Linked DNA regions of Homo sapiens: regions 2, 3, 4, 5, 6 and 7 are each linked to region 1. The links are contacts of gene promoters, found by promoter capture Hi-C in blood cells and fetal thymus (Javierre and others, 2016). All regions are on one chromosome and are shown on one strand. The core of a region is centred on a gene start or on the middle of the fragment in contact, and the rest is flanking DNA. Distances in the headings are between cores, read along the strand shown.

Region 1 (3,278 bases), core at 1-2,500:
CTGCCTGCCACATACTTGTTTGGCTCTTGGGCAAGCCACGTGTCTATACTTTGATTTCCTCTTCTGTAAAGCAGAGATAACATATCCACCCTGTGGGGTTGTTGTACAAAGATAGTGCCTTGTACACTCTAAGCTGCTATCATCCTCTCCTGAGTGGGTCTGGCGCACTACTGATCCCTGGTAATGTTAAAAAATCAAACACAACTGTGGGGGAATACTAGCCCCAGGTTCGTTTGCTCTCTCAACCTCCAAACTAGGGGGCACCCCCAGCTCCCTTACTCTGGGTGTTGTCTCTGTAGCCGCCATTTTTTCTTCTCTTGGTTCCCTTCCTACAAGAGCTTCTCAGTCGTGTTATTTACTCAGGCCTGAGGACAGAGGAGCCTGCGGGCTCCGGGCCTCTTGAGAAGTCAGTCTCGCTCACAGGTGGGACATAGCCCAGGCAGAAGGGCTGTTAGCAAATACGACTTTTTTTTTTTTTTTTTTTGAGACAGAGTCTCACTCTGTCGCCCAGGCTGGAGTGCAGTGGCGCGATCTCGGCTCACTGCAAGCTCCGCCTCCCAGGTTCATGCCATTCTCCTGCCTCAGCCTCCCGAGTAGCTGGGACTACAGGTGCCCGCCACCACCTCCGGTTAATTTTTTGTATTTTTAGTAGAGACGGGGTTTCACCGTGTTAGCCAGGATGGTCTCGATCTCCTGACCTCGTGATCTGCCCGCCTCGGCCTCCCAAAGTGCTGGGATTACAGGCGTGAGCCACCGCGCCCGGCCTACTGCTTATTAATTACCCCTGACCTCTGGTTTTGATTCTCGCAGTGATCCTTTAAAACACGCCTCGCCCTAATTAATAGCACCCTTTACAGAAGAGGAGATGGAGGCTCAGGGAAAGGTCACAAGACCACGAAGTGCCACTGCAAACTTAGAATCCAAAACCAGAAGTGCCATGGAAGCCCTCGCCGCGCCGCGCCGCCCCGCACCTGCAGGCGTCAAGGACGCGGAAGCCTTTGGAGCGCGCCAGGCCTGTGAGGAAGGCCCGGCGGCTGCGACCCATGCGAGGCTCGACCAGGTAGATGGCGACTCCCGGGAAGCGCGTCGAGGGCGGCGTGGAGGAAGCGGCATCGCCGCTAGGGGACCCGACCCGCGCTCGCCGCCGTTTGGGGAGCATTGGGACGACAGCCTCCAGCAGCGCGGAGCGAACGCAGAGGGAAACTCCGAGCGAGACGGAAGGAAGCCCCAGTGAGGCTGACGGAAGCGGGTGGGCGGGCGGGCGGCCGCCGGCTGGAAGAGGACGTGGCCCCGCCCTATGCAAATGAGGCCTCTCCGTGGGGCTCGCTACTTGGGCCAGTCGGAGCGCTGGGGAGGGTCCGGGCTCCTACAGGATTGGGTGTCCCGGCCGCTCCGGAAGACCCGCCTCCATGCAAATAACGGCAGAGGACCCGCCTTTTATTTAAATTAATGTCTCGGAAAGCGCTGTTCGGCCCCATTGGCCTCCGGGAGGAGAGGCTGGGCTGGAGCGGGGCGGGGAGGGTGTTGGAGGGGGTGGAGGAGGCGGGGTCAAGGGGGCGTCCCCGGCTAGGGAGGGTGAACTGGGACCTAGGCCCGGGCGGAGCGGGGTGGGCTGTGTCCTTGGCGCCGGGGCTGGGTCTAGGGTTGAGCCGGCGGCTCGGGGCGGACGCGTGCGGGCTGTGCCCGATCCCTCTGCGCTCGGGACTGTCACACGGAAGCCGGCGGGCGCAGGACCGACACGCGGGTTTCCAATGCGCTGGTGGGGCGGTCGCTTCAAACACGCGGGAAGATTTTTCAGTCGAATGGCATTAGGACAACTGGCAGGCCATTTGGAAAAATAGAAGTTGGTGCCCTTCCTCATTCCTTAACACCAAAATAAATTCCAGATGGGTCAAACATTTCCATCTAAAAAGGAAACCAACAACGTACTGGAAAAAAGTCGGTGAATGTTTTTATGATCTAAATATCACAATAAACTTGGAAACACTAAAGGAAAAGAATGATAAACTGGACTACAGACAAATTTTAAATCTGATTAAAAATTAGAGTCAGAAGATAAACTGGGATAAAGTGTGAGATATTTTGGAATTAAGATTATCTCATGATAATCTTATCAAATTGTCCATAGATAAAAAGACAATAATTTAATAGAAAAATTAGCAAAAAAACTCACGTAGATGATTCTTAGAAGAAATCCTGGTCAATAAATTTATGACCAGAGTGCCCAACCTGTCCAGTCGTTACAGAATACCTAAATGAGAATATCTTCAGTTGTGGGTTTATCAAACATTCAAAAAAATTGACCACACATGTTGAAGGTGCGAGGTAATTGGCAATCCATAGGAAGGACTGTGGAAGCCAATGTGGCAACCACATCCAACAAAATGAAAACAAAATAATACACATTGATCCAGCAATTCCTTTCCCAAGATTGGGATTGCATTGAATCTATAGATCAAGCTGGGGAAATCTGATGTCTTGATAATATCAAGTCTTCTGTCTATCTTATTTAGATATACTCCATTTGTAACCTCTGTTACGGTAGTGTGGCACTGCTCAGCCTAACTGATGGGACACCAGATCAGATGCAACCCCCTTCCACATGCCTCTCCTCATCACTGCCCCATCGTCCTCAGTCTTGAGCCCCAGACTCCTTGAGCACCTATCCTTTTTCTTTGGCTCCTCTCTGACATCTTTAGTGGGCTGGCTCTTCCCCATCTCTGCACTCAGAGCACAGGGCTGAGGGGAGTGGGGGAGATGGCTCAGCCCAGGCATCCTCTTGACCTCCTACACCATCTCCCAGCCTCCTAATTCATCTACCTCTTCAGGGCTGTAGAGCTTCCTGGGCCTCAGGACCCACATACAGAAGCCAGGAGGCCTGCGTATGGTCCCTCTCTCCCCATCCTCCCCTTGTGCCAGCAGGGATGGGCAGGCTCTAAGGGTCTTCGTCTGTGGATCTGGCTCCTACCCTTCTCAAGGAGGAGGCTCTGCCCAAATATCCCCTGAGCAGATCCCTCTAGCTGTCTAAAACCATTTCTGTTCCTTTTAATGTCCTCTGTCTGGCCAGAGCACCTGGGCTCCCCTTGGAGCCCTTGTTCTCTCCTGGGAAGGCAGAGGCAGTTTTTAAGACTATGAGACCTGAATACTTAAAACACTGGGCAACTGTGCAAAAATGTTTGTGCAAGGAATCTCATCCAAATGACAGTGGAAGAAACTGCCTAGCTTAGAAATCAGCCAGGCCCTCTGAGTGGTTGCTGCAAAGTGTCTGCTAGGACAAC
Region 2 (3,595 bases), core at 189-2,688, 770 kb after region 1:
ATGTTGCTGGATTTAACCCAGTAATATATAGTATAATTGTTCTCAAAGTGTGATCCTTAGACCACCAGCATCAGCATCACTTGGAACTTGTTAGAAATGTATTCTCACCACCACCCCAGACCTGCTGAATCTGACACTGAGGGTGGGACCTACAAGCGCTCCAGGGGATTCTGGTGCATACTGAAATTTAAGAACCACTGGTATAGTATATGCTGCAGTGCACAGTCCAGAGCCCACGTATTCCTTATAAAACTGGAGCACTTGGCCAGGTGTGGTAGCTCATCCCTGTAATCTCAGAACTTTGGGAGGCTGAGGTGGGCAGATCACCTGAGGTCAGGAGTTCCAGACCAGCTTGGCCAACATGGTGAAACCCCATCTCTACTAAAACAAAAATTAGCTGGGTGTAGTGGCATGCGCTTGTAGTCCCAGCTACTCTGGGAGGCTGAGGCAGGAGAATCACTTGAACCCAGGAGGTGGAAGTTGCAATGAGCCGAGATGACGCCACTGCACTCCAGCCTGGGCAACAGAGCAAGACTCTGTCTCAAAAAAACAAAAACAAAAAAACTGGAGCACTTATTTAGCTCCTGGAAGTGTTGACTGATCATTACTCAGGGATCTCTACCCAGGAATTGGACTTGGCCAAAGGAAGCTGTATCGCCCAAGTTTACACTCCTTTTTAGGGGGCCTACCTCCAGTGACTGGTGGATGTAGGATATAGTGCCTAGCTCTTTTGCCTTAATTTGAGACAATTCTGAAGGGCCATTCCAGCTCCAGAGTTTCTTGTGTGATTAGTTTTGACTTGATCTAACTGCATTGAAGTTCAACTTCTGCGTAATCCTACTTCCTCTATTTTCTCCTAGTAATGTCCCCAAGAGCATTCCATACTATTACCTCTTGAAAGCAAATCCCATTTGTTTCCTGGGAAACCTGAACTAAGACAATGACTTTTCTCTGCAAAAATGTAGTCAATTTTTGAGTAGGCAAGATATTCACACGTACAAAATTTCAAAATGTACAAAGGGTATACAGTGAAAAGACTCCCCTGGTGCAGTGGCTCATGCCTGTAATCTCAGCACTTTAGAGGTTAAGGCAGGAGGATCGCTTGAGCCCAGGAGTTCGAGACCAGTGTGGGTGACATAGTGAGACCCACATCTCTGTGAAAAATAAAAAAAATAAGCCGGGCGCGGTGGCTCACGCCTGTAATCCCAGCACTTTGGGAGGCCGAAGCAGGCAGATCACGAGGTCAGGAGATCGAGACCATCCTGGCTAACGCGGTGAAACCCCGTCTCTACTAAAAATACAAAATATTAGCCGGGCGTAGTGGCGGGCGCCTGTAGTCCCAGCTACTCGGGAGGCTGAGGCAGGAGAATGGCATGAACCCGGGAGGCGGAGCCTGCAGTGAGCCGAGATTGCGCCACTGCACTCCAGCCTGGGCGACACAGCAAGACTCCGTCTCAAAAAATAAAAAAATTAAGAAAATAAGCCAGGCATGGTGGCGTGCACATGTAGTCCCAGCTACTCAGGAGGCTGAGGGAGAAGGATCACTTGAGCCCAGGAATTTAAGGATGCAATGAGCTGTGATTGTGCCACTGCCTTCCAGCCTGAGTGAGAGCAAGACTCATACACACAGACACACAAACTCCTCCCATCCTTGCCCTTAGTCATCAGTTTCACCTCTGCAGAGGTGTTGCTGATACAGTGAAGTGTGTTAGCATTTAGAGACTTCAGACTTAAAGATTACTATACATAGATTGCAGGAGCTTTTTATCCCTGTGTTCACTTTTAAATTCCATTTTAATGCTGCAGTGCTCTTCAAAATATCACAAAGACTGTAAGAGACAGAAATTTTCTTTTGGCTATTCCTTTTTTTTTTTTTTTGAGACGGAGTCTCGCTCTGTCGCCCAGGCTGGAGTGCAGTGGCGCGATCTCGGCTCACTGCAAGCTCCGCCTCCGAGGTTCACGCCATTCTCCTGCCTCAGCCTCCCGAGTAGCTGGGACTACAGGCCCCCGCTACCACGCCCAGCTAATTTTTTTTTGTATTTTTAGTAGAGACGGGGTTTCACCGTGTTAGCCAGGATGGTCTCGATATCCTGACCTCGTGATCCACCCGCCTTGGCCTCCCAAAGTGCTGGGATTACAGGCGTGAGCCACCGCGCCCGGCCTCTTTTGGCTACTTTTGTAAAGGATAGCCAAATTCTCCTTTTTAAAGTACAGTCATGCATTGCTTACTGATGGGGATACCTTCTGAGAAATGTGTCATTAGGAAATTTCATCATCATGCTCACATTATAGAGTGTACTTACACAAACCTAGATGGTATATATAGCCTACTAGACACCTAGCTATATGGCATAGCCTGTTGTTCCTAGGCTACAAATCTGTACAGCATGTTACTAGTGCTGAATACTACTGTAACATAATGGTAAGTATTTGTATACCTAAACATAGAAAAGGAACAGTAAAAATACAGTATAAAAGATACAAGGCTGGGCTGGGGTGGCTCATGCCTATAATCCCAACACTTTGGGAAGCTGAGGTGGGCAGATCACCTGAGGTCAGTAGTTCGTGATTAGCCTGGCCAACATGGTGAAACCCCATCTTTACTAAAAATACAAAAATTAGCTGGGTGTGGTGGCACATGCCTGTAATCCCAGCTACTGGGGAGGCTGAGGCAGGAGAATCGCTTGAACCTGGGAGGCAGAGGTCGCAGTGAGCCGAGATCGTGCCATTGCACTCCAGCCTGAGCAACAAGAGCGAAACTCTGTCTCAAAAAACAAACCAACAAACAAAAACCCCAAAAAAGATACAAAATAGTACACTTGTATAGGGCACTTACCATAAATGGAGCTTGCAGGACTGGAAGTTGCTTTGAATGATTCAGTGAGTGGGTGGTGAATGAATGTGAAGGCCTAGGACTTTATACTGTATAGTACTGGAGACTATGAACAGTGTGCATAGGCTCCTCTAAATTTATAAAAATATTTTTCTTCAATAATAAGTTAACCTTAGCTTACCATAACTTTTTAACTTTATAAACCTTTACATTAAAAAATTTTTTTGAGTTTTTGTAAAACACTTAGCTTAAAACACAAATACCTTGTATGACTGCACAAAATGTTTTATTTCTTCATATCCATATTCTGTAAGCTTTTTGCTTTTTATTGAGAAGGGATTTTACTCTGCCACCCAGGCTGCAGTGCAATGGCGCAATCTCAGCTCACTGCAATCTTCGCTTCCTGGGCTCAAGTGATTCTCTCACCTCAGGCTCCTGAGTAGCTGGGACTATGGGCACAGATCACCAGGCCCGGCAAATTTTTGTATTTTTTGTAGAGACGGGGTTTCACCATGTTGCCCAGGCTGGTCTCCAACTCCTGGACTTAAGTGATCCTTCCCCTCTTGGCCACCCAGAGTGCTGGGATTACAGACCCGTGAGCCATGGCACCTGGTCTATTTTTAATTAAAAAAAATTGTTTTTTCACTTTTAAAAACTTGTATGTTAAAAATGAAGAAACAAACACACATATTAGCCTTGGTCTATACAGGGTGAGGATCATCAATATCACTGTCTTCCAGCTCCACATCTTGTCACACTGGA
Region 3 (3,694 bases), core at 804-3,303, 800 kb after region 1:
TGACCTCCATATTTAGAGATCAGGGGAACAACTTTAGTGAGCAGCAACCAATCCACTCAAACAGTCTGCCTTGTGCTTTATGCCTGACTTTTTCTTGTGCCTACCTCAGCAACCCCCAATGTAAAACTGCTTTTATCTTTGAAAATTTTTTGTCAACTTTGAAACTATTTTAGTAACGGATTCTACTCCAAGCATTGCTATCTGAATCCACTGGCATCCTGGAAAACAATTCTGCGAAGAAAAGACATTTGCCTTGGTCCAGGTTCCATGCAAAACCATTTTTTTAAAAAAATGGATCCAATTTGGTTCTGTATTCTTAGATGGCTTCTTGAAATCTTATCTTTAACCTGTTCATGATTATCCCAAGTTGCATTTCTTTTCGTGAACCTGAACCCTCAGAACTGGGTAATTGTAAAGGCCTCTCTTCTCAAGGATTCCATGAAGACCTAGATCCAAAATGCTGATTTCAATGGAGGTGAAGGGATAGACACCGCAACAGTGAGGCCTAGAGAGATCTTTTATGCCAGATTACCCAGGTGCAACCTAAATGCAACTGTTATCAATGGTCTGGGTAACTTGGACATGTTTCTTGCCCTGGATGTGCAAGGATCTATTCCCTCCAGGGATTATCCTGATGGGTTTACGAACCTCAGTTGAGAAACAACAGAAGCTGAGACAATTTTACGCAGGTGAGGAGATGCTGTTTTCCTCTTTGCAGGTTGCTGTCAGTTCCTTGGAACTTGACTGCTTTTCTCAAGTTGTCCGTCACTGTTCTCTTACGATTATTTCTCTTAACTGTGTTACGTTTTGTTTTTTCCCTCTGCGGCCTCCCTTGCTCCCTCTCCACTAGCTCACTGGGGATGAGCAGGAAAGGGAATTCTCTAGCCAAGGGGATGGTGGTTGGGTGGAGGCCTGTAGGGGAAGCTGCCCGTTTCAATCCTCATCCACCTCCTCACCCTCTGACTCTTCGCCGCCGCCGCTGCCCCCACCACGTCGCTCATAAAGCTTATCCCTCTGTCGTTCCTGGATTTCTTTCATCTCATCCGCATACCGGCAAAAGGCGCCTCCGAACTTGCCCCAGGCTTTGAAGGGTACGGTGATGGCATTGCGGTAGGACGGCTTCACCTCGCTCACTCGCAGAAACACCCCGTATTTGTTGCAGCCCACATCGAAGAAGAAGCGCTTGGAGTCCACGGTGATGGAGGTGCCCTCCGGGAGCTCTCCATACAGGCCGCCCCCTGGGCCCCCGGCGCCGCCTCCCGGGCCGCCTGCCAGCTCGTCGTCCTCGCCTCCGTAGTCGTCTATGAGCTTCGCCAGCGCGTCGCGGAACTCGATGAGGCCCTGCGCAGGCAGCGCGATGGTCTGGCCGCTCTGCAAGCCGCCCGGCCCGGGGCCCGCGCCGAAGCCGCCACCGCCGCGGTTGACCGTTTGGCGGATGCGCAGGAAGCGGCCGCGCTGGTTCTCCTTGAGGTCCAGGTAGTACTTGCGGTTCTCACGCACCAAGAATTCGCTCTTGAGCGCGCGCCGCGGCCCGCCGCCCTCCTCGGCGCCAGCCGCCAGCTGCTCGGGGCTGCTAGGGCCCAGCTGCGCGTAGTGTTCTATGAAGTCGCCCAGCGAGTCGCGGAACTCGGCGGCCACCGCCATGGACAGCGTGAGGCGGCTCTTGGAACCGCCCGCGCCCACCTCGGCGATCTTGAGGAAGCGGCCCTTGGCGTTCTGCTTCACATCTAAGTAGAAGCGCTTGTTCTGGATGTCCAGCCGCTTCGAGGCCAGCTCCTGCGTCTCTTGCTCGCCGCCGCCGCGGGACGCGGGCTGGAACCCGCACGGCCCACCGCCGCCGCCGCGCTCGCTGCCGCTGTCGCCGTCCGCCATCTTCTAGGCCGCCGCCTCGCCGCCACCGCCCGCCGCGCTCGCGCCCCCGCCCTCCGGCTCGCGCTCCGGGGCCCCCCAGCCTCGCCCGCCCGGCTCGCTCACGCGCTCCCGCCGCTCATCGCCGGCCGCCGCCGCCCCCCCATCGCCTCCGCGCCCCGCCCCCGCGACTTCCGTGCAGCCCTAGCCACTTCCGGCGCGCGATTTCCCGTGAAGTCACTCCGTCCCGCCCTCCGCGGCCTCGCGGCCGGAAGCGCCGCGGCGGCGTGGCGCAGAGGGGTGACGTCAGGGGCCGCGCCGGGCGGGCGGCAAGCTGAGAGTAGGCTAGTGTTACTGCTCGGTTTCTAGCCCTGGGGACTTGCCAGCCTTAGCGTGACTCAGCCGCCCGCTGCGTCTGTCTACGCGCCTCTTCCCGTGACACTTTTACTTTAGACTCCGGTGTCGTCCACTTCCCTCCTTCTCGCTTCCGGGGCGTTAGCTGAGCATACTCAGGCCCCAGCCTGCTCGCGCTGGTTGTGTGCTGGGAACAGAGTTCCAGTCTATACACTGGCGACCGGGGGGAGGGAGATCCTTTGGAGCACTCGGAAGCGGGTTCTGACCAGCCTGTGGGGTTCCCTAGAGGAGGCATGAGCTGACTCTGAAGGGCAAACTGCAGTTGGCCTGGCAACTCTGGAGAAGAGCCACCCAGCATAGGAGACGGCAGTGCAGAGGCACCCAGGGCCTGATGCTGGGAGCTCAGAGCAGCTGGGGGTGTGTATGCCTGAAGAATGGTCGTAGATGACACTGGAGGGTGGATTAGATCAAGGAAAGCCATTTGCAGTGCGGGAGAGTTAGTGCCTACCCCAGAGTCTGGAGCCACCGTATGTGATCAGGTTCACATTTTGGAAAGATCACTGTGGGAACAATATAGAAAGAAGATGATTTAGGATGAGGTTAGATTTGGGATCCAGAGATCAGTTAACTGTCCCCACAGTTAGCCATATTAAAGTGGTTAAGGAAATTGACTGCCAATCTTTAGTTTCTTTATCAATAAAATGAATAATTCCTATGAGGTCTTTTTGTTGTAAGCATTGAGGTGTAACAAGAGGCAGAATTGGAATAGTGTTAAAAAGTGTAGGCTCTGCAACTGCACTGGGTTTGAATCTGTGACCTTGACCAGTTACTTGATTTTCCAAAGCCAAAATGTCCTCATCCTTAAATTTTTTTTTTTTTTTTTTTGAGTCTTGCTCTGTCACCCAGGCTGGAGTGCAGTGGCGTGATTTTAGCTCATTACACCCTCCACCTCCCGGGTTCAAGCAATTCTCCTACCTCAGCCTCCTGAGTAGCTGGGATTACAGGCAACCGCCACCACACCCGGCTAATTTTTGTATTTTTAGTAGAGATGGGGTTCCACAATGTTGGCCAGGCTGGTCTTGAACTCCTGACCTCAGGTGATCTGCCCGCCTCAGCCTCCCAAAGTGCTGGGATTACAGATGTGAGCCACCACACCCAGCCTAAATGTAGTTATTCATAGATAGTGAATCCAACAATGGACTTGTAAAGAACACAAATAATAGATAACCCAATATAAAAGGTGAAAGATTTTAACAGACACTTCGTCAAAAAAGCCAGTAAGCACATGAAACAGTGCTCAACATTATTCATCATTAGGGAAATATAAATTAAAGTCAGAATGAAATACCAACTAGAATGGCTAAAATTAAAAAATGTAACATCAAGTGTTGAGAAGGATGTGAAGAAACTGGAACTCATACATTGCTAGTAAGGATATAAAATGGTATAAATGCTTTGGGAAACAGTTTGGCAGTTTCTTATATACCTTTCA
Region 4 (3,587 bases), core at 302-2,801, 910 kb after region 1:
CAGCAACCAGCCCAGGAAACAAGCCTGCTGTAAGTCATACTTGCAGGAAGCCAGGTGTTATCTCTAGTGACAATCCAGGAGTAACTTTTCTAACAGCCCCCAAAGCCTAGGACTTAATTAATAACTGGCACCCTATCTCTCACCAGATACAAAAATCAACTCAAAATGGATTAAAGACTTAAACATAAGACCTGAAACTACAAAACTACTAGAAGAAAACATAGGGGAAATGCTTCAAGACATTGAACGAGGCAAAGATTTTATGGCTAAAATTTCAAAAGCATAGGCAACAAAACCAAAAATAGACAAATGGGACTATATTAAGCGAAACTAAAAAGCTTCTGCACAGCAATGGAAACAATCAACTGAGTGAAAAGACAACCTTTAGAATGGGAGAAAATATTTGCAAACTATTCATGCGGCAAGGGACTAATATCCAGAATATACAAGGAACTCAAACAACTTGACAGCAAAAAACCACAAATAATCCATTAAAAAGTGGGCGAAGAATCTGAGTAGACATTTCTCAAAAGAAGATGTACAAAAAACAAATAGGTACATATAAAAAAATACTCAATATCATGAGTCATCAGGGAAATGCAAATCAAAACCACAATGAGATACCATTTCACCCCATTTAGAATGGTTATTATCAAAAAGGCAAAAAATAAGGGTGTTGGCGCACCTGCAGTCCCAGCTACTTAGGAGGCTGAGGTGGGAGGATCCATTGAGCCCAGGAGCCCAGCTCCTTAGCTCAAGCTGCGGTGAGCTAAGATCATGCCACTGCACTCCAGCCTGGGTAACAGAGGGAAGCCCTGTCTCTAAAAAAAAAAAAAAGACAAAAAATAAGGTTGAGCGTGGTGACTCAAGCCTATAATCCCAGCACTTTGGGAGGCTGAGGCGCGAGGATTGCTTGAGCCCAGGAATTTGAGAGCAGCCTGGGCAACATAGAGACCTCATCTCTACAAAAAGTAAAAAAATTAGCCAGGTGTGATAGCAGACACCTGTGGTTCCAGCTACTGGGGAGGCTGAGGTGGGAGGATCTCTTGAGTCTATGAGATCAAGGCTGTAGTGAGCAGTGATCATACCACTGCACTCCAGCCTGGGTGACAGAGTGAGACCTCATGTCAAAAAAAATTAGTATATATACACAATAGAATACTATTTGGCCATAGGAAAAAAAAATGAAAATGTCATTTGCAGCAACATAAATAGAGCTAGAGGTCACTATGTAAGCCTGTAATCCCAATACTTGGGAGGCTGAAGTGGGAGGATGGCTTGAACCTAGGAGTTGGAGACCAGCCTGGGCAACATAGTGACCTCATCCCTGTAAATTTTTTTTTAAACAAAAAAACAAAGACAAGTATTGCATTTACTCACTCATATGTGGGAGCTAAACAAATATTCATCTCATTGAGATAGAGACTGGGATGATAGCCACCAGAGGCTGGGAAGGGTGTGTGTTGGGGGAAAGTAGGGGGCTGAAGAGAGGTTGGTTAGCGTGTACAAACATACAGCTAAATAGAAGCAATAATTTCTCATGGGTGTGTGTGTGTGTGTGTGTGTGTGTGTGTGTGTGAGACAGATCTGGCTTGTTGCCCAGGCTGGAGTGCAGTGGTGCAATGACAGCTCACTGCAGCCTCGACCTCCTGGGCTCAAGGACCCCACTTCAGGCCCCTGAGTAGCTGGGACCACAGGTGCACACCACTATGCCCAGCTAATTTTTGTATTTTTTGTAGAAGAAGGATCTCACTATATTGCCCAGGCTGGTCTCCAATTCCTGGGTTCACGTGATCTTCCCAGCTTAGCCTCTCCAAGTGCTCGGATTACGGGTTTGAGCCACCACACCCAGCCTAAATTCTAATGTTCCATAGCAGAGTAAGATGACTATAGTTAATAACAATGTACTGTATATTTCAGAATAGCTAGGAGAGATCTGAAATGTCTCCAACACAAAGAAATAAGTGTTCAGGTGACGAATATCCTAAATACCCTGATTTTATTATTACACATCATATGCATGTATCAAAATATCACATGTATTTTGGCCGGGTGCAGTGGCTCATGCCTGTAATCTCAGCACTTTGGGAGGCTAAGGTGGACAGATCACATGAGGCCAGGAGTTCGAGACCAGCCTGGGCAACATGGTGAAACCCTGTCTCTACTAAAAATACAGAAATTAGCCGGGCGTGGTAGTGGGCACCTGTAATTCCAGCTACTCCGGAGGCAGGAGAATCGCTTGAAACTGGGGGGTGGATGTTGCAGTGAGCTGAGATTGCACCACTGCACTACAGCCTGGGCAATACAGAGTAAGACTCTGTCTCAAAAAAAAAAAAAAAAAAAAAATTAGCCTGGTGTGGTGGTGCATGCCTGTAATCCCAGCTACTTGGGAAGCTGAGGCAGGAGAATTGCTTGAACCTGGGAGGCAGAGGTTGCAGTGAGCTGAAATCATGCCACTGCACTCCAGCCTGGGTGACAGAGTGAGACTCTGCCTCACACACACACACAAATCACATGTACCTCATAAATATGTACAATTATTATGTGTTAGCTGGGTGCGATGGCTCATGCCTATAATCCCAGCACTTTGGGAGGCTGAGGAGGGAGGATTGCTTGAGCCTAGGAGTTTGAGACCAGCCTGGGCAACATAGTGTGACCTTGTCTCAACAAAAATATACTAAAATTAGCCAGGCTTGGTGATGCGTCCTTGTAGTCCCAGCTACTTGGGAGGCTGAGATGGGAGGATTGCTTGAGCCCAGGAGGTTGAAGCTTCAGTGAGCCATGACTGCATCACTGCACTCTAACCTGAAGGACAGAGTGAGACTTTATCTCTAAAAATACAAAAGAAACAAAAAATTATTTGTCAATTAAAAAAAAACTGGCAGCTTTCCTAGTTTTCGGTCCTGCTTCCAGCTTAGGAGCAACCAGAGAAAGACAAATATGTGCCCCTAACCAATCACTTGGGATGCCCTGCCCCTTGCTTCCCCAGGCCAACAGCCTCAAATGAGGACATCCCTGGAGGCTTCCCTTTTTTCACTATAAAGCTTACCCACTCCTCTGCCTGACATTGAGTCTCATCCAAATACAAATGATGGTGGCTGACTCCCTTGTTATAGCAAGCTAACAGCCTTTTTGCTTTTCTCATTTTATTGTCTTTATTCCCAGTTATCACCATCTGATCATTAGCCAGTGGACTTTTGCTTGAAGCATGAACCTGTGTATGCAAAGACAGGGCAAAGGTATTCTGATGGATAAGAACAGCCTGAGGAAGTCAGCACATCCAGAGTTAGGCTAAGAGAAGTTTTAGTAGTGTTGTTTACTGTATTATGGAGTGATAAATATGCATTTGTGGAAGACGGTGGAAGACTTTAAATATCAGGCCTTTGTTCTGTGAATGGTGGGAAAATAATGACAACCAGATGCGCTACATCATTTGCGTGTGTAAATGTGGCAAGCTGGATTATTGCAGAAGGCAGATTGAAAGGGTGTTTCCACTATCTCTGCTTTATCTTGCAGAGAATGGAATACTTATGCCTTTGGAGAGGTCTAGAGACCAAGTATTTCTTTTGAATATCAGTATAACATAG
Region 5 (3,247 bases), core at 218-2,717, 900 kb after region 1:
CCCAGCCCCACCCAGATGACAGGGAGGGAGTTGATGTCGTTGTCTTTACACCCCCGACCCCCCAGCCTGTGGCCAGTGGCTGCTGCCTCTCCCCTGGCACAGCCTCAGACTTCTTGACCCTTTCCTTCACAAACCTGGTCCCCAGTGGGGGTGGATGTCTGCCCTTCTCTTGACCTTTCTGCCCCTGGGAGGAGGACTGGCAGGCCTGCCCCTCAGACCCATCTCCCCTTGGTGTGTGGTACCCACCCTTCCCTGGATGGCCCTGTCTCCCGGCAGCCTGTCCTGGGTGGGCCTGTCCTGAGGTTCCTCTTTCTCCACCACCTCTGACATGGGTTTTCCTGGGCCTAGCTCCCATCCTCCTACAAGCTGGGGATGAGGGCACAAGTCACCCACGTCTCCAGGGCTCAGTGTTCTCCTCATCAAAATAGAGAGGACAATGTTTCATAAGCTCATTTTATAAGAATGAGGTAGAACAATGTGCACAAAGTGCTTAGCTCACGTCCTGGCTAGCCCTCCTCTTTGAGCCAGGCTCGTGGTCTCTTGCCTTCGGTGCTTAGTGGGGATCCTGGTCCCCAAGCTCTCCCCAGGGAGCTTCCGGAGTACACAGCGAGTGGCCTTCTGCCCCTCCCTGGGAGTCCTGGCAGGAAGCCCAGCTGCCTGTATGGCCACCCTACTGTGCCATGCCCCTACCTCCCGGGCTTCTCCCTGCCCTCCACCTGCCCTCCTTGATGGTAAATTGGGCTCCAATATCACTTCTACCAACTGTGTCCTGTGATACTCCATGTACCCCAGGAGAATGTCACCTCAACTTGGTGGGAATGTTTGGACCCTAGGGTGGAGCCTGACTGCTTCATCTCAGTGTCCCCAGGGCTCAGGCCAGGCCCCATGGATGAGATGCATCGAGGGAGCATCAACAACTGGCTGGGAAGTGGCTGGAGGGAGGTGCCCCTGGTCCCTCCTGGAAAGATAGTGCCTGGTATGTATCTGTCCAAGAAGTGTCATGCCCTGGCCCCGTCGGGCAGGAAAGAAGGGGCAGAAGATGCCTGGACTGTGTGGGAGGCAGGGGTGGGTTGAGGTGGTGGGCAGCTCCGGTGCTGACTTGCCAGCCCTGACAGGGACAGTTGCCTCCTTGTCTGTTCCTGTCCCCTGGGGCCGTGCTTTGAGGCACTCATTTCAGCCCCATCTGGTCTGGGTGGGTGTGTGCCACTGCCCCCTCCCTTGGACAGCAGCGTGCCTTCCTCTTTCCCTCAGGTCTCTGCGAGGACGCAAGGTGGGAGACCCTGGAGGAGGGGAGCCACTGCCTCCTGCCCTGGGCCTACCTGAGCTGCAGGTTCCTCATGAAGTCCTCCATGGTCACTTGGTCCAAAAGCACAAAGTCAGGTTTGCCATACTCAGGGCCTTCCTCGTCCTCCATCCTGCCGGCTGGAAACACCTTGCCTCACCTTCCTGTGCCTGCTGGAAGGACAGTGAAGGAGAGGGGGAGGGAAGGCTAGGGGAGGCCCCACCGCCCCCGCCCTGCCCCACCAGCCTCCTCCAGTGCTGGTGTAAAGTAGGAAGTGGGTTCTAGTCCTGGGAGGGGCTGCCCTCCGCACTTGCCACTCCTTCCCCCTCGAGGTGCTCTAAACCCTGCTTCCTGTCCCTGCGCCCCACAAGGAGGCTGTGCCTAACGGTCTGACCCGTTTGCACGCCAGGGGCGAGGGGCCGGATGCTGGGTCCTCCCCGCTTTGGAGGGTTCTTCGCTGGCCTCCTTCGGAAGCTCCCCTCCACCCACAAGCAGGAGACAAGACTCCGTGGGTTGGCTTCCAACCCTGGCAGCACGTTAGAGTCACTTGTGGGACTTTAAAGAAAGATTTTTTGACGTGATCTTGGTTACCTGGCTGTGTGTGTCTCTCAAGTCAGAACTGAACACTAGATGCAATATACTGTATGTACATTGTACATTAATACAAAAATGAAAAAGGATCCTAATGCCCAGGCCTTTGGGGTGGGGGCAACAGCCTTCTTTGCAGTGTGAAGGCCACACTGGGGTGTAGACGAGCAAAGCTTCTTGTGTGACCTGCCAAGGGCCAGTGGTCCTAGCACTGCAATTCCCCACCCCAGCCACGGGGGAGGGACAGAGGACCCCAGAGCATCCTCTGCATGGGGCTGGCCTTCAGTGGGACCCCTGTGCCCCTAACTGTCCTCTGCCTTGTACTTGTGTCCAGCCGATCCCCCATAAACTGCAGTGAGGACCAGGAACATGCCTGGAGCCCTGTGGCCTCATCTCAGAGCTGCTGTCCCTGCACTTTGAAGATGAGGCAGCGCATTTGGGGAGCGGCTGCATTTAGGGAGTGGCCAAAATCTCCAGACACTGCATTCCTGACACTTAGTGCTCCTGGAAGAAGTGGGAGGGGTGCAGTTCTCTTAGCTTCCAGGCAGACTGGAAAAAGTTCTTTTTCATCCCAGGACAGACTGGGGCAGGTCACACCCATCCTCTAGGAACACTGGGGCGATTCTCTCATCAAAGGTCAAATGGATGCAGTTCTCTCTCATCCTACAAATAGACTGGTGACATTTCTCTTTCACCCCTTCCCTCATACAGGGAGGTCAAAGGGCAGACTCCAGAATTCCCAAACTTCAGTCATTCATGTGCTGCCTTTGAGATTTGTTGTACTCATAAGCACTAGTTTAACTATTGTCTTTCAGTCATCCCATTTTTTAAACTTTGAAGTAATGGATAGGCAAGTTAAGTTTATTTTTTTCTCTCGAATACCTTAAAGCAAATGCATTCCTGATAAAACTGAAAGTACTTATTCAAGTACCTAATAAAACTGAGTCACGCACCACTGCAATAAGGGGCCACTGGCCTGAAAAATCCCCAAATTTGTAAGTGGGCAGCCTCTGGCTCCACCCTGGGCCAGACCTGGGGCTCCTCTTGGGCAAATTCAAAGTCAGTCCTTCGGAACTCTGACAAGTGTGGCCTCCTCCCCACCCCCAGGCTCTTGGGCTGGTGCTTTTGAAGGGTTTCCCAAACCTACACTCAAGTCTGGGAATTCTCACCCAGACTCTTGCCAGCTCATCTGTCTTTTCAAGTTTCACTTCCCCAACCCCCAGGGAGTCAAGCCAACCAGTGGAACCAAGATGGCTGTATTCCAGTAAAACGTTAAGGACACCGAAATCTGAACTTCGCAAACTTTTCATCTGTCACGTAATCATACTATTTTGGGTATTTCCCCCACCACTAACCACTTAAAAATGTCAAGACCAC
Region 6 (3,507 bases), core at 782-3,281, 940 kb after region 1:
CCACCTCACCCTGCAAGTCTGGGCTTTTAGTGTACCCATCACCCAAAAAGCGTACATTGTATCCAGTAGGTAATTTTTCATCTCTCACCTCCCTCCCACTTTCTCCCTTTCTAAGTCTCCAGTGTCCATTATATCACTCTGTGTGCCTTTGTGTAGCCATAGTTTAGCTCCCACTTATAAGTGAGAGAACCATGCCCGGCCCAGACTTCTTTTTTTAAATGTTCTAATAAAACTTTATTTACGGCTGGGTGCAGTGGCTCACACCTGTAATCCCAGCACTTTGGGAGGCTGAGGAGGGTGGATCACCTGAGGTCAGGAGTTCGAGACCAGCCTGGCCAACATGGCGAAGCCCCATCTCTACTAAAAATACAAAAATTAGCCGGGTGTGGTGTTGCGCGTCTGTAATCCCAGTTACTTGGAAGCCTGAGGCGGGAGAATCGCTTGAACTTGGGAGGTGGAGGTTGCAGTGAGCTGAGATCGTGCCACTGGACTCCAGCCTGGATGACAGAGTGAGACTCCGTCTCAAAAAACAAAACTAACAAAAACAACAACAAAACACAAGAAAACCCCACTTTATTTACAAAAACAGGTGGCTTGCCTGTGTGGTAGAGTTTACTCAGCCTTTTTCTAGAGAATGCCTTGTTATTGTGAATGAGATTCAGTTTTATTATGGTAGGCAGTGAGATTACTGGGAAATCTTTTTTTTTTTTTTTTTGTCGTGTGCATCTTTGTTTAGTCATTATTTTGATAGCTCTGTATCAGTTTTTTTTTTTTTTTTTTTTTTTTTTTTTTTTTTTTTTATGAGACAGAGTTTTGCTCTTGTTGCCCAGGCTGGAGTGCAATGGCACAATCTTGGCTCACTGCAACCTCTGCCTCCCAGGTTCAAGTGATCCTCCTGCCTCAGTCTCCGTAGTAGCTGGGGTTACAGACATGTGCCACCACGCCCTGCTAATTTTGTATTTTTAGTAGAGTTGGGGGTTTCTCCATGCTGGTCAGGCTGGTCTCGAATTCCCGACATCAGGTGATCCTCCTGCCTTGGCCTCCCAAAGTGCTGGGATTACAGGCATGAGCCACCGCACCCGGCCTCTGTATCAGTTTTGAATTTAGTTCTGGGTGTTTTCCTTACACCTAAAGTGTGGACTTTTTGGATTTCTACTGAGTAGCCAGTTCAGCAAAGTCTCTTCAGCTGATTATAATGTTCAGGAAAGACTCTTCAGCTGATAATAACTTCTGGCATCACCATTCAGCAGTCAGTCAAACATTAAATGATTACCTGTAGGCATTGTGGAGTTTCATCTCTGCATGTCCAGGCCAGCCCTTAGTCAAGGCCCAAGAAACATGTTTTTATCGTCAAGAACTTCTAGGCTCTTAGTTTACATAATGGAATCTTACAGATTTTCCTTTGTTTGCTTGCTGAACACTGTCATTGTCACCCTGGGATTTCTTTTCTCTGCTTCCTGGGTTGGTTCCACTGTTTCTTGGAGTCCACATCTTTTTCTCTCTTGGATGATCCTCGTTTTGCTGGGAGTAGATCCTCTAGTATGTTTTTCAAAAGGGGGTTTTTAGAGTGTAAAGATCCCAAGGCACTGCAGGTGTGAAAATAACTATTTTGCACCTTGATTGACAGTTTGGTTTTAAATTAACTTCCAGATTTAAATTAATTTCCACACAGAATTTTAAAGGGATTACCATATTCCCATTTATCAGGATACATCTGATGCTGATCTGAGTCTTACTGCTTTTACAGGTACTTTTTTTTGCATTTTCTTATTGGAAACCTAAGATTCTCTTGAAATTCTGCAGTTTTGTGAAGATGAGTCTAAATGTTGAGGGTTTGTCTCTTACATTCAGCCTACTTGTTACTGTGCTTTTTCTGTCCATAAAATTGAGTTCATCGTTGTTGTCTTCTGATATTTGTGTCCCTCTTTGATTCTGCCTGCTCTTATTCTCCTCTTAGGAAACTGTTAGACTCGATGGACCCAGCTTCTGTGGCCTTTAATTTTTCTCATGTTAAACTTTTTACCTTTTCACTTTATGTTCTAAGACAGGGTTGGCAAACTTCATGTAAAGGACCAGACAGTAAATATTTCAGGCTGTGTGGGCCAGGGGGCAAAATTGAGGCCATTAAGTAGGTACTTATATAAGAGAGAAAGCAAATTTTCGTAAATTTTTTTATTGATGAAATTCAAGGTATAATAATTGAGTACAATTTTTTGTAATATGGTTCTACTACTGAGAATGGAATTCTTTTTGGGGGCTAACATTTTGCTTAATCAGGGTTCAAAGTTGGTGATTCCCTTTATCGAATTGGTGGCAAATGTTCATCTGTAAAACATTTGCAGCTGTGGCCATCAGCAGCAGGCAGGCATTGGCCAACCCCGCAGTTCTCCTTCACATCATTCTTTGGGCTCTCCGCTATGTCCTTGTTATTATTCTACGAATTTTTTATTTTGGCAGTCATATTTGTAATTTCTAAGATATATTTCTTGTTCTCTGTTCTCTCTTTTTCTTTTTTTTTTTTTTTTGAGATGGAGTTTCACTCTTGTTGCCCAGGCTGGAGTGCAATGGCGTGATCTCACCTCACCGCAACCTCCGCCTCCTGGGTTCAAGTGATTCTCGTGCTTCAGCCTCCCGAATAGCTGGGATTAACAGGCATGCGCCATCACGCCCAGCTAATTTTGTGTTTTTGGTAGAGACGGGGTTTCTCCATATTGGTCAGTCTGGTCTCAAACTTCTAACCTCAGGTGATCTGCCCACCTCAGCCTTCCAAAACGCTGGGATTACAGGCGGGAGCCACTGCACCCGGCCGTTTTCTCTTTTTCATAGCTATCTAGTCTTATTTTATGGATGCAGTTCTTCTCAAGTGTCTCTAAGTATACTAGCTAGAATGTAGGTTCCTGTGCCTGTCTCTTCCCATTTGTTCTTTGGCTTTTCTCTCTCATGCTGACCGTGGGGATCACTGTGTTTGTGAGGGAAGGTTGGGGTTGACTAGTGTTCAGAGCATGTGGGTTTTCTTTTTAGTCATGTCTATTTCCCTGGAATCCTTCCCCTCCCTGCAGTAGCCAAAATAGAGGTGAGGCTGCTCAGCTGAGTGGCACCTCTTTCTGTATCTCCCTCCTGGTTTGCCTTTTTCCCTTTGAGCCTACCTGAAGGTCAGGGTCAGCTGGTTCTGCCCTGTATAGGCAACTTTTAGGAAGGAGCAATCTGAAATTGTGACTCTACTCTGGTTTTTAAAGACAGAAAGTGACAGTCCAGTTAATACCGGATATTGACTCAAATCTAGTTCTGATGCTGCTTTTCCAACTTTATGACAGTTTCTACATCTGTGGTATATGGAATAATAATTGAAGCACTAAATTTTATTCTGAAGCAATCAGTCTTTTTGGAATCAGGAAATATTAAACTTTATTTGTTACAGGTTAATGAAATAGAATTGTATGAAAGTACCATTTTTATAGCCAAAACACTGTTGAAAATCAGCACTTTGATTTGGTTCAACCTAATATT
Region 7 (3,622 bases), core at 1,118-3,617, 730 kb after region 1:
TCCTGAACTCAGTGCAGGACTGGACTCCTGGACTTTATTTTTTTTTACTCCATGTTTTTCTTGTTTATTTGAATCAATGGTTCTGTATGAATGCAATTTTAGGAAATATAAATATTCATCTTAGGGGACTGGCTAAATCTCAGTCTCTTGAGTAGCTGGGATTACAGGTGCATGGCGACATTGTTTCCCTTAAGTGAAAATGATTTTTTTTTTTTTTTTGAGACGGAGTCTTGCTCTGTCACCCAGGCTGGAGTGCGGTGGCGCGATCTCGGCTCACTGCAAGCTCCGCCTCCCAGGTTCACGCCATTCTCCTGCCTCAGCCTCCCGAGTAGCTGGGACTACAGGCGCCCGCTACCAAGCCCGGCTAATTTTCTGTATTTTCAGTAGAGACGGGGTTTCACCTTGTTAGCCAGGATGGTCTCGATCTCCTGACCTCGTGATCCGCCCGCCTCGGCCTCCCAAAGTGCTGAGATTACAGGCGTGAGCCACCGCGCCCGGCCTCTTTTTTTTTTTTTTTTTTTAAGACAGAGTCTCACTCTGTCACCCAGGCTGGAGTGCAATGGGCGATCTTCACTCACTGCAACCTCCGCCTCCCAGGTTCAAGTAATTCTCCTTCCGCAGCCTCCCAAGTAGCTGGGATTAGAGGCTGATGCCACCACGCCCAGCTAATTTTTGTATTTTTAGTAGAGAGGGGGTTTCACGATGTTGTCCAGGTCGGTCTCGAACTCTTGAGTTCAAGTGATCCTCCAAACTCGGCCTCCCAAAGTGCTGGGATTACAGGCGTGAGCCACTGCGCCCAGCCGATGTTGACTCTTTTAAAAGTTCAGGACAGGCTGGGCGCAGTGGCTCACGCCTGTAATCCCAGCACTTTGGGAGGCTGAGGCAGGTGGATCACAAGGTCAGGAGATCGAGACCAACCTGGCCAACATGGTGAAACACTGTCTCTACTAAAATACAAAAAATTAGCCGGGGGTGGTGGCACGCACCTGTAGTCCCAGCTACTCAAGAGGCTGAGGCAGGGGAATCACTTGAACCTGGGAGGCAGATGCCACTGCACTCCAGCCTGGAGACAGAGCGAGACTGTGTATCAAAGAAAAAAAAAAAGTTCAGGACAGCTGGGCACGGTGGCTCACTCCTGTAATCCCAGCACTTTGGGAGGCCAAGGCAGGTAGATTGCTTGAGCTCATGAGTTGGAGACCAGCCTGGGCAACATAGTGAAACCCCATCTTTACAAAAAATACAAAAATTAGCCAGGTGTGAGCCTGTGGTCACACTGGATGCGAGCCTGTGGTCCCAGCTACTCAGGTGGCTGAGGTGGGAGAATCCCTTGAGCCTGAGAGGTGGAGTTTGCAGTGAGACGTGGAGTTTGCAGTGAGACGTGATTGTGCCACTGCACTCCAGCCTGGGTGATAGAGCCAGACCTTGTCTCCAAAAGAAATAAAACAGCTGGGTGCGGTGGCTCACGCCTGCAATTCCAGGCCGAGGCAGGTGAATTATCTGAGGTCAGGAGTTCAGGACCAGCCTGGCCAACATGGTGAAACCCCATCTCTACTAAAAAATAAAAAATTAGCCGGGCGTGGTGGCACATGCCTGTAATCCCAGCTACTCAGGAGGCTGAGACAGGAGAATTGCTTGAACCTGGGAGGTGGAGGTTGCAGTGAGCTGAGATCGTGCCATTGCACTTTAGGCTGGGCGACAAGAGTAAAACTCCATCTCAAAAATAAATAAATAAATAAAATAAAGAAACAAATAAAACAAAGAGTTCAGGACATTGACTTTGTGGAATGTCCATTATTCTGGAGCTAATTGTTTCCTGTTTTTCTCTTTTAGCTCCTGTATTTTCTGTAAATTGGAAATTACACTAGGCCTAGAAGCTTAATTGGATTCAAATTCATCATATTTAGCAGGAAGATTTCATAGGTGATACTTTGTGTACTTAATCTTGCCTCACATCAGGAGGCACAAAGTCTCAGGCTGACTCATCAGTGAGGCTAAATTTGAACTTGCAGTTAAGGTAATGCCTGCCAGACTGCTCCACTGGAAAGGTATCTTTTCCCTTTTCTGAAAATTAGGTAATCTTGAGGGGTGATATTTTGCCTCTGCATAAAGACCCTCTTTCCAAGAAGAGAGCCTTTTCACCTGATTGTTGTGTTTTGGCATTAATTATATTTGTCTGAATCAATTATTCCCTTTTGCAGTTGTAAAGTACCCTTCTGATCCCTCCCTCCTCCTGTCACTATGGACTTATGTATTTTTATTCAATATATTAAATAATTGTTTTCCCAGTTGCCTTATTTGAATTTACATCCAAATAGGATCCATATATCTATAGAAGTTTGAGCAGAGGAGTGACAGCATTTGCCTAACTTTTTTTTTTTTTTTAGATAGGGTCTTGCTCTGTTGCCAAGGCTGGAATGAACTGATCTCAGCTCACTGCAGCCTCGACCTCCTGGCCTCAGGCGATTCTCCTATCTCAGCCTCCTGGTAGCTGGAACTACAGGCATGTGCCACCCACCACACCTGGCTAATATTAAAAAAAAATTTTTTTGAGACAGAGTCTTGCTTGGTTGTCCAGGCTGGAGTGCACTGGTGTTATCTCAGCTCACTGCAACCTCCGCTTCCCAGGTTCAAGCGATTGTTGTGTCTCAAGCCTCCTAAGTAGCTGGGACTATAGGAGTGAACCACCACGCCCGACTAGTTTTTGTATTTTTAGTAGAGGCAGGGTTTCACCATGTGGGCCAGGCTGGTCTCAAAGTCCTGACCGTAAGTGATCCGCCTGCCTTAGCCTCCCAAAGTGCTGGGATTACAGGTGTGACCCACCACTCCTGGCCAAAAAATTCTTTTAAAATTTTTTGTAGAGACAAGCTTTCACCATGTTGCCCAGGCTGGTCTCAGACTCCTGGGCTGAAGCAATCCGCCTGCCTTGGTCTCCCAAAGTGCTAGGACTACAGGCATGAGCCACCGTTCTTCTTCTTTTTTTTTTTTTTTTTTTTTTTTTGAGACAGAGTCTCACTCTGTCATCCAGGCTAGAGTGTAGTGGCGCAATCTCGGCTCACTGCAGCCTCCACCTCCCGGGTTCAAGTGATTCTCCTACCTTAGCCTCCCGAGTAGCTGGGATTACAGGCGAGCGCCACCACACCCAGCTAATTTTTGTATATTTATTGGAGACAGGGTTTTGGCATGTTGGCCAAGCTGGTCTTGAACTCCTGACCTCAGGTGATTCACCTGACTCGGCCTCCCAAAGTGCTGGGATTACAGGTATGAGCCACTGTGCCCAACAGAGCTACCTTTTTTTTCCCCCCCGAGACGGAGTCTTGCTGTGTCACCCACTCTGGAGTACAGTGGCGTGATCTCGGCTCACTGCAGCTTCCACCTCCCAGGTTCAAGCAATTCTACTGCCTCAGTCTCCCAACTAGCTGGGATTACAGGCGCCCACCACCACGCCCGGCTAATTTTTTGTATTTTTTAGTAGAGACGGGGTTTCGCCATGTTGGCCAGGCTGGTCTTGAACTCCTGACCTCAGGTGATCTGCCAACTTCAGCCTCCCAAAGTGCTGGGATTACAGACATCAGCCACCGCGCCCGGCCTAAGCCACCATTCTTAAAAAGGTCACTTTGACTGA

Evidence for each region. The method cuts DNA at HindIII sites, captures the fragments that hold promoters and counts their contacts. A CHiCAGO score of 5 or more calls a contact.
Region 2: a contact is called between a fragment that was not itself captured here and the fragment with the promoter of POLM in region 1, in 2 of 17 cell types (neutrophils and monocytes). The highest score is 6.8, in neutrophils.
Region 3: a contact is called between the fragment with the promoter of PURB here and the fragment with the promoter of POLM in region 1, in 4 of 17 cell types (fetal thymus, neutrophils, monocytes and 1 more). The highest score is 7.9, in fetal thymus.
Region 4: a fragment that was not itself captured here is called in contact with the fragment with the promoter of POLM in region 1 in 1 of 17 cell types (naive B cells); the score reaches 5.3 in naive B cells.
Region 5: the fragment with the promoter of MYO1G here is called in contact with the fragment with the promoter of POLM in region 1 in 3 of 17 cell types (monocytes, fetal thymus and total B cells); the score reaches 11.4 in monocytes.
Region 6: a fragment that was not itself captured here is called in contact with the fragment with the promoter of POLM in region 1 in 2 of 17 cell types (monocytes and total B cells); the score reaches 7.3 in monocytes.
Region 7: a contact is called between a fragment that was not itself captured here and the fragment with the promoter of POLM in region 1, in 1 of 17 cell types (non-activated CD4 T cells). The highest score is 5.2, in non-activated CD4 T cells.

What each region holds. Positions count from the first base shown.
Region 1 is chr7:44,081,280-44,084,557 of GRCh38, forward strand. POLM (DNA polymerase mu) reads right to left here and starts at 1,251. Exons shown (of 11, transcript NM_013284.4): 1 at 972-1,251. The coding sequence starts at 1,159. RefSeq lists an enhancer at 1,025-1,525 and a silencer at 1,237-1,816. The HindIII fragment of the contact is 8,170 bases long and covers 1-3,278 here.
Region 2 is chr7:44,851,959-44,855,553 of GRCh38, forward strand. No RefSeq gene overlaps it. Among named protein-coding and RNA genes, the nearest start is that of H2AZ2-DT, 5.3 kb to the left of the region's middle. The HindIII fragment of the contact is 3,414 bases long and covers 1-3,145 here.
Region 3 is chr7:44,883,477-44,887,170 of GRCh38, forward strand. PURB (purine rich element binding protein B) reads right to left here and starts at 2,054. Exons shown (of 1, transcript NM_033224.5): 1 at 1-2,054. The coding sequence starts at 1,872. The coding sequence ends at 934. RefSeq lists enhancers at 1,126-2,085, 2,234-2,483 and silencers at 1,544-1,593, 1,884-2,243. The HindIII fragment of the contact is 4,558 bases long and covers 1,004-3,694 here.
Region 4 is chr7:44,995,304-44,998,890 of GRCh38, forward strand. The region is part of intron 2 of LOC102723334 (a long non-coding RNA gene); the gene reads right to left. Among named protein-coding and RNA genes, the nearest start is that of CCM2, 3.1 kb to the right of the region's middle. The HindIII fragment of the contact is 2,431 bases long and covers 337-2,767 here.
Region 5 is chr7:44,977,548-44,980,794 of GRCh38, forward strand. It overlaps MYO1G (myosin IG), which reads right to left and starts at 1,468. Exons shown (of 22, transcript NM_033054.3): 1 at 1,320-1,468. The coding sequence starts at 1,414. RefSeq lists a silencer at 1,411-1,500 and enhancers at 1,701-1,770, 1,801-1,850, 3,078-3,207. The HindIII fragment of the contact is 4,854 bases long and covers 1-2,041 here.
Region 6 is chr7:45,023,026-45,026,532 of GRCh38, forward strand. The region is part of intron 1 of CCM2 (CCM2 scaffold protein); the gene reads left to right. Among named protein-coding and RNA genes, the nearest start is that of CCM2, 25 kb to the left of the region's middle. The HindIII fragment of the contact is 9,674 bases long and covers 1-3,507 here.
Region 7 is chr7:44,809,272-44,812,893 of GRCh38, forward strand. No RefSeq gene overlaps it. Among named protein-coding and RNA genes, the nearest start is that of PPIA, 14 kb to the left of the region's middle. The HindIII fragment of the contact is 991 bases long and covers 1,873-2,863 here.